Linked DNA regions of Homo sapiens: region 1 is linked to region 2. Evidence: promoter capture Hi-C in human tissues and cell types (Jung and others, 2019). All regions are on one chromosome and are shown on one strand. The core of a region is centred on a gene start or on the middle of the fragment in contact, and the rest is flanking DNA. Distances in the headings are between cores, read along the strand shown. Region 1 overlaps RNF213 (ring finger protein 213). Region 2 holds the start of SGSH (N-sulfoglucosamine sulfohydrolase).

Region 1 (4,339 bases), core at 798-3,297, 160 kb before region 2:
CTCTTGCTCAGCAAGTACAGATACTGTGTATGGAGGGCTCTAGGCTAGATGCTTGGGAATCCAGAGAGGAATAATCAACAGTTCTTCCCCCATGGCGCACAGCCTACACGTGGCTTTTTCCTTTGGCATCTGGACCACACCTCCTCTGAGGGCTAATAATGCAGCCTGTGGTCCAGGCAACACCTTGCCATTCTATCAAGACAAGGCTCACTGACCCCATGCTGCAGTGGCTAGAAAGAATGGCTAGCAGCAGTTCCCAACCAGTAGCAATTTTCTTTCCTAGGGGACCTTTGTCAATGTCTGGTTTTAGCTGTCACACTGGGAGGAGTGGGTGCTCCTGGCATCCAGGGACTCGAGGTCAGGCATACTGCCAGACAGCCTGCAGTGCACAGGACAGCCCACGCCGCAGAGCCACGTCCACAGTGCTGAGTCTGAGAAGCCCTGGGCTAGAAACCCTTAGCGCCATTGGCATTGCCCTGCTCAGAGCACCCTGGGCAGTCCTCGGTGAGCCTGTGCTCTCCTGGAAGGCCGAGAGCCTCACTCTCCTGACCCACGATCCCCCTCCTCCAACCCAGGAGTGCACGCCACCCCTCAAACCCTATCTTAAATACCAAGACTCACCTCTCCCACGGAGCAAGGATGGCCGTTGGGACAAGCTGTGAAGAGAACAGGACACACATTGGCTAATGAGGTTTCACCCAATGACCCACATTGAAAAGGGAAAGCTAACTCTCTACTCTCTGGCCCTGACCACAATATGAGAATGACTGTCCAGAGCATCCCACGCTAATTTGTTAAGTTACATGACACCTGCCTGAAGCTTAATAAATGTATGTTGTCAGTGAAAAATGTCTGAGTCTAATTTTATTAATTTTATCAAGTAAAGAGCAATTAGAATATAGGCCCATACCAGGGGTACTTTTGGAGGCAAGGTGGACAGGATTCTAGACCTTTCTATTTTCCTTGATTTTTTTTTTTTTGTCATGAGCATATTTTATAACAACTTTAAAAACTAGTTTTAAAATATTTACTCAGGCAACAGCAAAATTTACATGTCATGGGTTATATGAGTCAGTCTCCCGGTTCTATATTTCATATATTTCAGAAGAGCTTTGTGTCAAAAACTTTGTTTTGTGGTGGGCCTTTGAATGCGTCTCTGATGTGGTTCCCAGTCCCTCCCTTCTCCCAAAATGGCATATTCCAGAGAACAGAAGTGCATCACAGAGGGCCTTTTCCACACGACAAAGAAATGAAATGGTTTGGATCATCTAGCCGGCGGAGTGCCAGCTCCTTCAAGCCATTCGTCTTCTGCAGACGCCACCGGTAGAATGCAGGTGGTTTTGGACCCTGAGGCACAAACCACGTGGACCCCAAGTCGAACCCAATGCTTCATAGCATCTGGACACCCTTTGAAGCTCAAAGGAGTGTGGGGTCATCTAGACCCCAACACTTACTGTACCAGTGGACTCGCTCCAGACCCTTCCACCTCCGAGCTTGAGCCAGCAAGTCTTCAGGCATGGTTGGAAGAAAAGCATGCTGAAAAACAAGAAGACAGAGACAGCTCTAGATAAGTGAGCTTGTCACCTGGGTGCTGCTGCTCAGCAGGAGGCCTAGAGGAAGAAAGGGAACTCTGCTTTCCTTCTGCTGGACTTCTCAAGCTGTCTGTGAAGAAAACAGAACAGCTTCCTGTGAAATAACAAAGGGCAAGGCAAGTCTGTCACTATCTTGTGTGCTCAAGAATCAGGTGACACAAAGGCAGAGAACTGAGGAGATAAAGATGCTCAAGAGTTCCCACAGCTGCAGCTCGGTCTCTACAGTGACAAGCTCTGGGGGGTGTTCCAGTGAAGGCCGATGGAATTGTGGCCTACTCTTACCGCCATGGTGGCTGGGGAGAAGGCCAGATTCTTTAGGGGCTCCAAGAGTTCATTCTGTCCACACAGAAGGACGGCTGCAGCATGAATGGCCATTTCTGTCACCGTTCCATCAAGGTTGCTGTCACTAGGCCCCGCCCTCAACAATGGCACAGAATTGTCCACGAGCGATGTTGCAAAACGGCTGATATCAGGAGGTGAAAGGATCTTGCATTCGCCAATGAATTTGCTCACAGCTTCACATTGCTGACAGGAAAAAAACTTAACATTAAGATGTATCAAAGAATATTGTGTGAATTGCTCTTAGACATACACTGACACCAAATACACATCAAATATCAAGGTAAATATGGAGAAATCACCACCATTTGAGGGGGAAATTTTTCAGAGAAGAGAATTGTGCATATACAAACACAGCATCCACATACGTAAGCATTAATTTTGATATTCTATTCTGTTAAACATTATCTTATGTTCTTGGCTTTAGTTTTCATTATAATTCTACAAGCTTTGGGTTAAACAGCTTGGTTATGTGTTCCTCCACATAACAAGGTTGAGAACCTCTATCCTAGATAAAAAAATTATGGTATGATTTGTGTTGATAACTTTCATTCTATTCAATAAAATCCCTCCAAATACTGAGACTTTGAACACAGCCCTGCAGGCGGTTACTCACCTCTGGCGTGGGGTGGAGGCTTGCATTGTGGGATCTGTACAAAATAGCCACCTCTCTAAACAGTGTTAACAGGAAGTAGGCTGACTGCTGGCTTTGGGGGGTCTTGCAGGCCTGCAAAATCAAGGGTATCAAGTAAGAATTTAAAAGCTCAACACATCTTTTTTTTTTGAGATGGAGTCTTGCTCTGTCACCCAGGCTGGAGTGCAGTGGCATGATCTCGGCTCACTGCAACCTCTGCCTCTCGGGTTCAAGCGATTCTAACTCAGCCTCCCGAGTAGCTGGGACTACAGGCACACGCAACCATGTCCGGCTAATTCTTTTTTTTTTTCTTTTAGTAGACACGGGGTTTCACCATGTTTGCCAGGCTGGTCTCAAACTCCTGACCTTGTGATCTGCATGCCTCGGCCTCCCAAAGTGCTAGGATTATAGGATAGACGCCCCCGCACCGCTGCCTGCCAGATCTACCTAAGGGCCAGAGGCCCACGAAGTTTGCATGTGAAAAGAAACTTTTCACATGCCTCAGCCCTCAACCCACCAAAAGGGAAGGAGCCTTTTCCAGGCCTGGACACCTGGGGTCATGCCCCACATGGGCAGTCTTCTGGCGAGCAACTTTTGGGCTACAAAGTTCCTGAAATACTCTCAGATTAAACTCAACGCATATTTAGCAGCCAGCTTAATGACAGAAGCAACGGAATCACCATCTGTTCTTCTGACTCCTTCACTGGTCTTAGAAACTTCTGAGCAGAAAGAGGATTTTCCATTTCCTCTTTTCCTGGCACAGGGACTCAAAAAGGAAGCAAGACCAGACCAATTTAAAGGTTAGATTCTAAAAACATCTTTATATTTTTTAACTTCCCACACTACACCAACATATGTATTTTTATTAAACACACATGCATATCTGAATTATGAATACATCTAGGTATGAATTTTGCTATTAATAGTTGTGTCAGCATCTTTCTTAGACTGTTTTCCAGCAGGGTCTCAAAGGAAGTAATGGGCATAAATCAAAAGGCGCTGCTGATGGACTTGGCAGATCAGCAAGACACAGCAAATCTGTCAACCCAGCTCAACTGTCATAGCTGTCCTGTTCCAGCCACTGGTTCACGCACACTAGCCAGGTGCGCCCTGGAGGCTGTGGGCACGTGACTTCCAATACAGTGTCACGTGATGGGCTGCATCAGTGGTCCATCACCCTGCATCATTTGACATAAACCAGGGAACATGCAGGCTCCAAGGGATGCCACCTGGTATCAGAGAGAAGCCACGGGCCCATCCTACCTTCAGAGCAGTCTTAATGCCCAGTGGCTTGCACTCGAGGACAGCTTTGGCCACAGCATCACGGAGAGCCTTGTATTCATCGCCGTACACCAGGTACCTATCCATCTGGCCTGGGTGGTCCTGCCGCAGCCCCTGGAATACAGAGGTTAGTTGGGGGTGAACAATGGGAGGAATGTCTTGCAAAGAACCGTCTGAACGGGTACAGGAACCAGGTGGTTGATCATTCGAGGTTTAAAGGCAGCCAAGCTGGGATTCCCTGACCTGGCCTGAGGCAGGACAGTCTGGTGCCCTCTTCGCAGGGAGCTTCCTCCTCAGTAGACGAAGAGGTGCAAGTGCAGGGAATGCCTGCCGACGGCAGCGCTACCTGGGGAGGTGCTTGCTTCCTCCGTTTGCGGCGCACCGCACCACACCTGAGGCCGGGTGGCTCAAGTCATGTCAACTCTAAACCCCAGGTGGTAGTCAAACAGTGCCGGGGTTCTTAGTACCATTTTTGTATCCCCTGGACAATAAG
Region 2 (4,358 bases), core at 530-3,029:
AGCCACCGCACCCAGCCTAATTTTTGTATTTTTAGTGGAGACGGGGTTTCACCATTTTGGTCGGGCTGGTCTTGAACTCCTGAGGCCTCCATGAGTCATCTCGCTGGCCCCTCCATAACCAGCTCAGTGTCTGTGTGTGCCAAACAGGCATAGGAGCCTGGGTCGGCCCAGAGACAATCTGCGTCACACACTGTAAACCAAAGGTTCCTTGGGGCCCAGGGGCTGGAAACCTGGAATCGCTGATGGTGTCTGGGATTGATACTGTGTATTCTGCACTGTTTCTGAGATATGGCTGGCAGCAGGGTCAGACGCCTCACCTGGGGCGGGAGTCCAGCCACTTCAGCATAGGCCAGCGCCTGGGGAATGGCAGTGAGGCCAACTGAGAGGCCGGCGACGAAATCCATCTTCAGCCACTGCAGGGAGTAGCTGGGCAGCCACGCCAGGATGGGCAGCCTCCTCTGCAGGGCCGCAGGGGAGCAGCAGCAGGCGCTCGGGGCCATCCCGGGGCCAGAGGACCTGGCCTGACCCAGCGCCGTCACCGAAGAAGGCATCTCTACGGTGGGGCTGGGGGGTGCAGGTGACACAGACCAGCAGTCAGAGCGTGGCCTTTGAAGAACCCGGCAACACTGGTCAGGGTCGGCGGGTGTCAGGAGAGGTCACTATGGGTCTCCCCTCCCCAGGGGGGCGAACGGCTCTAAGAGGAAGCCAACAATGTGTGCAAGATGGGGACTGGGCCAAGACTGGAAGGCCCACCCCGTCCCTCATCACCCTCTCTCCCTGAATCCCCCCCGTGCAAATCCTGGGTGCCTTCTGTCCCTCCATCCTCAACTCTCCCAGATAAGAAACTGATAAGCGATTCCTCATTGAGAAGTCTGAAGACTAATTAGGCTCAACACTTCTGGCCCCTGGAGAACCGACTTCCTTTGCCTTTTTTTCCGTCTCCCCAGGGAATTTAACGGGGAGCAGCGCAGAGAGAAGCTGGGCCCGCGGGCGCACCGTAGGCTGGCGGGGGGTGCGGGTGGCAGCCAGGAGATCCAGCGGGGCTCCGAGGTTTTCCAACTGCGCACCAAGGCGGGCTCCACCCGCTACGGTGGACTGCGGCGCTCGAGGGAGAGTGGGGGGGTCCTCCGCTCCTGAGGCCACGCCTCGCTCAGCCCCCACCTGTGGCTTTCACAGCCCTGGAGTTCTAGTTGCTTCTGGGAGGACATCAGAGGCGCCCGGTTAATTCAGGTGCGCAGCATCTTCCAGGGCCCCGGCGCCCGCGCGCAGAGCCGCCACCCTCACCCCCAGCCCCCCACGCCCCCGGCCGCTCCGCTCCGGGCAAAATCCACTCCCCGGCCCCCGGCCCCGCCCACAAGGCCGCTGGCTCCGGATCCTGGGGTCTCCGGAGGAGACCCTGCGCCACCTGACCGTCCGCGGTCCCTTGGCCCCGAGCAAGGCCGAGGGCCGCGGGGACCCGGGTAGGGACGCGGCGGGGGAGTGGTCCCCACGGGAGGCCCCCGCACTTCAGGACTCCGCGCTGGCCCCCGCGTCGGCTGCCCCCGGCGACCCCGGCCACTGTCCGCTCCCCCTGCCCCTGGTCCCCGCTCGCCGCCCTCGCGGGCCACGGACTCACCCACTCGGCGATGCAGCTTGGGGTCTCCTGGCGTCGCCGCAGCTGGGTCCGCAGGAATCGCCGGGGACAGGCCGGGGCGGGGTCTGGCGCGCACGTGACCGGGGTCGGGGCAGGGGGCGGGGCCGAGCGGGAGACCAGAGAGCCGGAGCCGGATCCCGATCCCGAGTCCGAGCCGCCGCCGCCATGAGCTGCCCCGTGCCCGCCTGCTGCGCGCTGCTGCTAGTCCTGGGGCTCTGCCGGGCGCGTCCCCGGAACGCACTGCTGCTCCTCGGTGAGTGCCGGCGCCGCCCCCCCACGCCCACCTGCGGTGGCCCGGGGAAGTGGCCACTGGCCTCCTCCCCACCCGTGGTCAATGCTGACCCTAGTGTGCCCTGCCCTTGTATCCCCCGCTGCCATTCCCTCTCGTCCTCCTCTCTGTGCCGCCCCCAGACTCTTCACGGGTGTCTCCCCAGAGAGGGCAGCAAAGGCTGGAGGAGTGAGCCCCAGCATCCAGCACCCCTACACTTACCTCGTGCCGCCTGTCCCACCCTCCTCTGACCCTGCCCAGCCAGGGCTCAGGGGTCCACGGATCTCAAATCCCTCTTGGGAGGGGATCCCAGAGGAGGGGCTGGTGCTCCGGTCCCCAGAGACTGCAGACAGGGTGCCCTCCTGGCTCTCATTTCCGACCCCAGAGCCTGTGTCTCAGCTGTCTTTTCCCTTATCCCAAGGGCACAGCCCTCCACCACCCACCCACCACCGTCTCCCCCAACCCCAGTCCCTCTCAGAAACCCCAGGTTCCTCCAGAGCAAGCACCGTGCTGCTCACAAGACTTCCGGTTTAGGTAATCAAGGCTCTGGCTCATGACAAGTGACAAGGCCAAACCCAAGGCCTGCGATTCTTTCCCCTTCTGAGGTCTGGCGCCCTGCCAGTTGCCCTCTTTCTGATTAATTTTGTGGTCTCTGGGCGGGGGTTCGGCTCACTGTAACATAAACAGCTCTCCTGCCAACTCCTCGCCTCCCAGAAACACAGCAGAGAATCTGCATGGACCCTCACCTGCGGATCAGAATTCCTACAGGAGGCTGTCAGAGTCCAGGCTATGCGGCCCCTGGGCTAGGGCCTTTCTTAGCACGGACTGCCATGGATCGGCTTAAACAGAAATGTATTTCTCACAGTTCTGTGGGCTGAAAATCCAAGGTCAGGGTGCCAGCTTGGTTGGGTTCCAGTGAGGGTCCACTTTCGGCTTACAGGTGGTCACCCTCTCACTGTTTCCTCACATGACAAGCGGATGGGGGTGGTCTCACTTCCTTTTCCTTTCTTTTTCCTTTCTTTCCTTTTTTTTTTTTTTTTTTTTTTTTTGTGAGACAGGGTCTCACTCTGTCACCCAGGCTGGAGCACAGTAGCACAATCACAGCTCACTGCAGCCTCAATCTCCCAGGCTCAAGCGATCCTCCTGCCTCAGCCTCCCAAGTAGCTGGGACCTCAAGTGCACATCACCATGCCTGGCTAATTTTTGTATTTTTTGTAGAGACAAGGTCTCACTGTGTTGCCCAGACTGGTCTCGAACTCCTGGGCTCAAGCAATCTTCCTGCCTTGGCCTCCCGGGTGCTGGGCTTACGGGCATGAAACACTGCACCCGGCCCTCTCTTTCTTTTCCTTTAAGTCCACAGTCCTGTCAGATCAGGATCTCATCCTTATGATTCATTTACCCTTAATTAAGGACCCTGTCTCCAGATACAGTGATGTTGACGTTAGGGCTTCAGCATATGAATTCTGGGAGGACACAGTTCAGACCATAGCAGGCCCACAGCCAAGTGCCGAGACACTCTGGGTTTGGAGAAGGGCAGCTTTCTTCCTGGCCTGCGGGTACGGAGCACAGCCCATCCCGCTCTCCCTCCAGGTTTACGTGGCTGCCATGTGCTCACACCTGTGGGTACTGTGGGGTGGAGGATGGAAGCCCAACTGGAAGGTGCCCAGCCTCCTCTGTCCATCCATGGACCACATTGCCTCTGAGGGAGCTGGGGAAAGTGTTGGTCTGGGGGTTCCCACCAGCCTCTCCTGTGGTGCCCCCAGTGTCCTCTACTCCAGAGCAGGGGGAAGAAGCTTGGTGTGGTTGTAGGAGTTCAGCGGCCTGTCCCTGTTTCCTGCTGCCCAGTGTGTGGCCCTGGGCACTGCACCTCACCTTTCTGGGCCTCAGCTGCTTTGTGTAGGATGAAAGGGTTGAAATAGACAACCTGCAAGGTCACTAGGCCTTTGAGATGGCATCAGTGAGAAGCAGCGGTGGGACGCACACACATAGAGCTTTAGACGCGCCCTGGGCGAGGCTCTCCTGCCCTCTGCCCCATGCGGTTTCCGCTGAGCCCAGAATTGCCCAGCAGTTCTGTGGCCATGCGCTCAGCCGCTGTCTGCCTAAATGCCTAGCCGGCTAACACGCCCACCCAGGTAGCATGCCTGCTGGGGTATCATCAAGCTTGTTGGGTCATCATGCCTGCATGAGTATCTTGCCCACTTGGGTACCATGCCTGCCTGCTAACATGCCTATGCAGGTACCAGGCTTGCCTGGGTACCATGCCCATCTGCTTATACCCACCAGCTATCAGTCCAGCCTGTGTACCATGCCCACCTGCCAACATACCCACCGGGTATCATGCCTGCTTAGGGTATCATCAAGCTTATTGTGGTATGATGCCTGCTTATCATGCCCACTTGGATACCATGCCTGCCTGCTAACATACCAACCACGCATCATCCCTGCTGGATACCAGTC

What was found. The method cuts DNA at HindIII sites, captures the fragments that hold promoters and counts their contacts. A contact is called where the count stands out against the background at its distance.
Region 1: a contact is called between a fragment that was not itself captured here and the fragment with the promoter of SGSH in region 2, in 1 of the 25 tissues and cell types used here (H1 embryonic stem cells).

Annotation. Positions count from the first base shown.
Region 1 is chr17:80,374,079-80,378,417 of GRCh38, reverse strand. It overlaps RNF213 (ring finger protein 213), which reads right to left. Exons shown (of 68, transcript NM_001256071.3): 50 at 3,829-3,960; 51 at 2,548-2,658; 52 at 1,875-2,117; 53 at 1,455-1,536; 54 at 622-656. All of the region lies in intron 1 of RNF213-AS1 (RNF213 antisense RNA 1), which reads left to right. Among named protein-coding and RNA genes, the nearest start is that of ENDOV, 39 kb to the left of the region's middle. RefSeq lists a silencer at 1,662-1,862. The HindIII fragment of the contact is 4,243 bases long and covers 1-4,168 here.
Region 2 is chr17:80,217,754-80,222,111 of GRCh38, reverse strand. SGSH (N-sulfoglucosamine sulfohydrolase) reads left to right here and starts at 1,779. Exons shown (of 8, transcript NM_000199.5): 1 at 1,779-1,886. The coding sequence starts at 1,799. SLC26A11 (solute carrier family 26 member 11) reads right to left here and starts at 1,685. Exons shown (of 18, transcript NM_001166347.2): 1 at 1,616-1,685; 2 at 997-1,196; 3 at 318-564. The coding sequence starts at 551. RefSeq lists silencers at 1,458-1,527, 1,548-1,817 and an enhancer at 2,618-2,737. The HindIII fragment of the contact is 8,333 bases long and covers 1-3,878 here.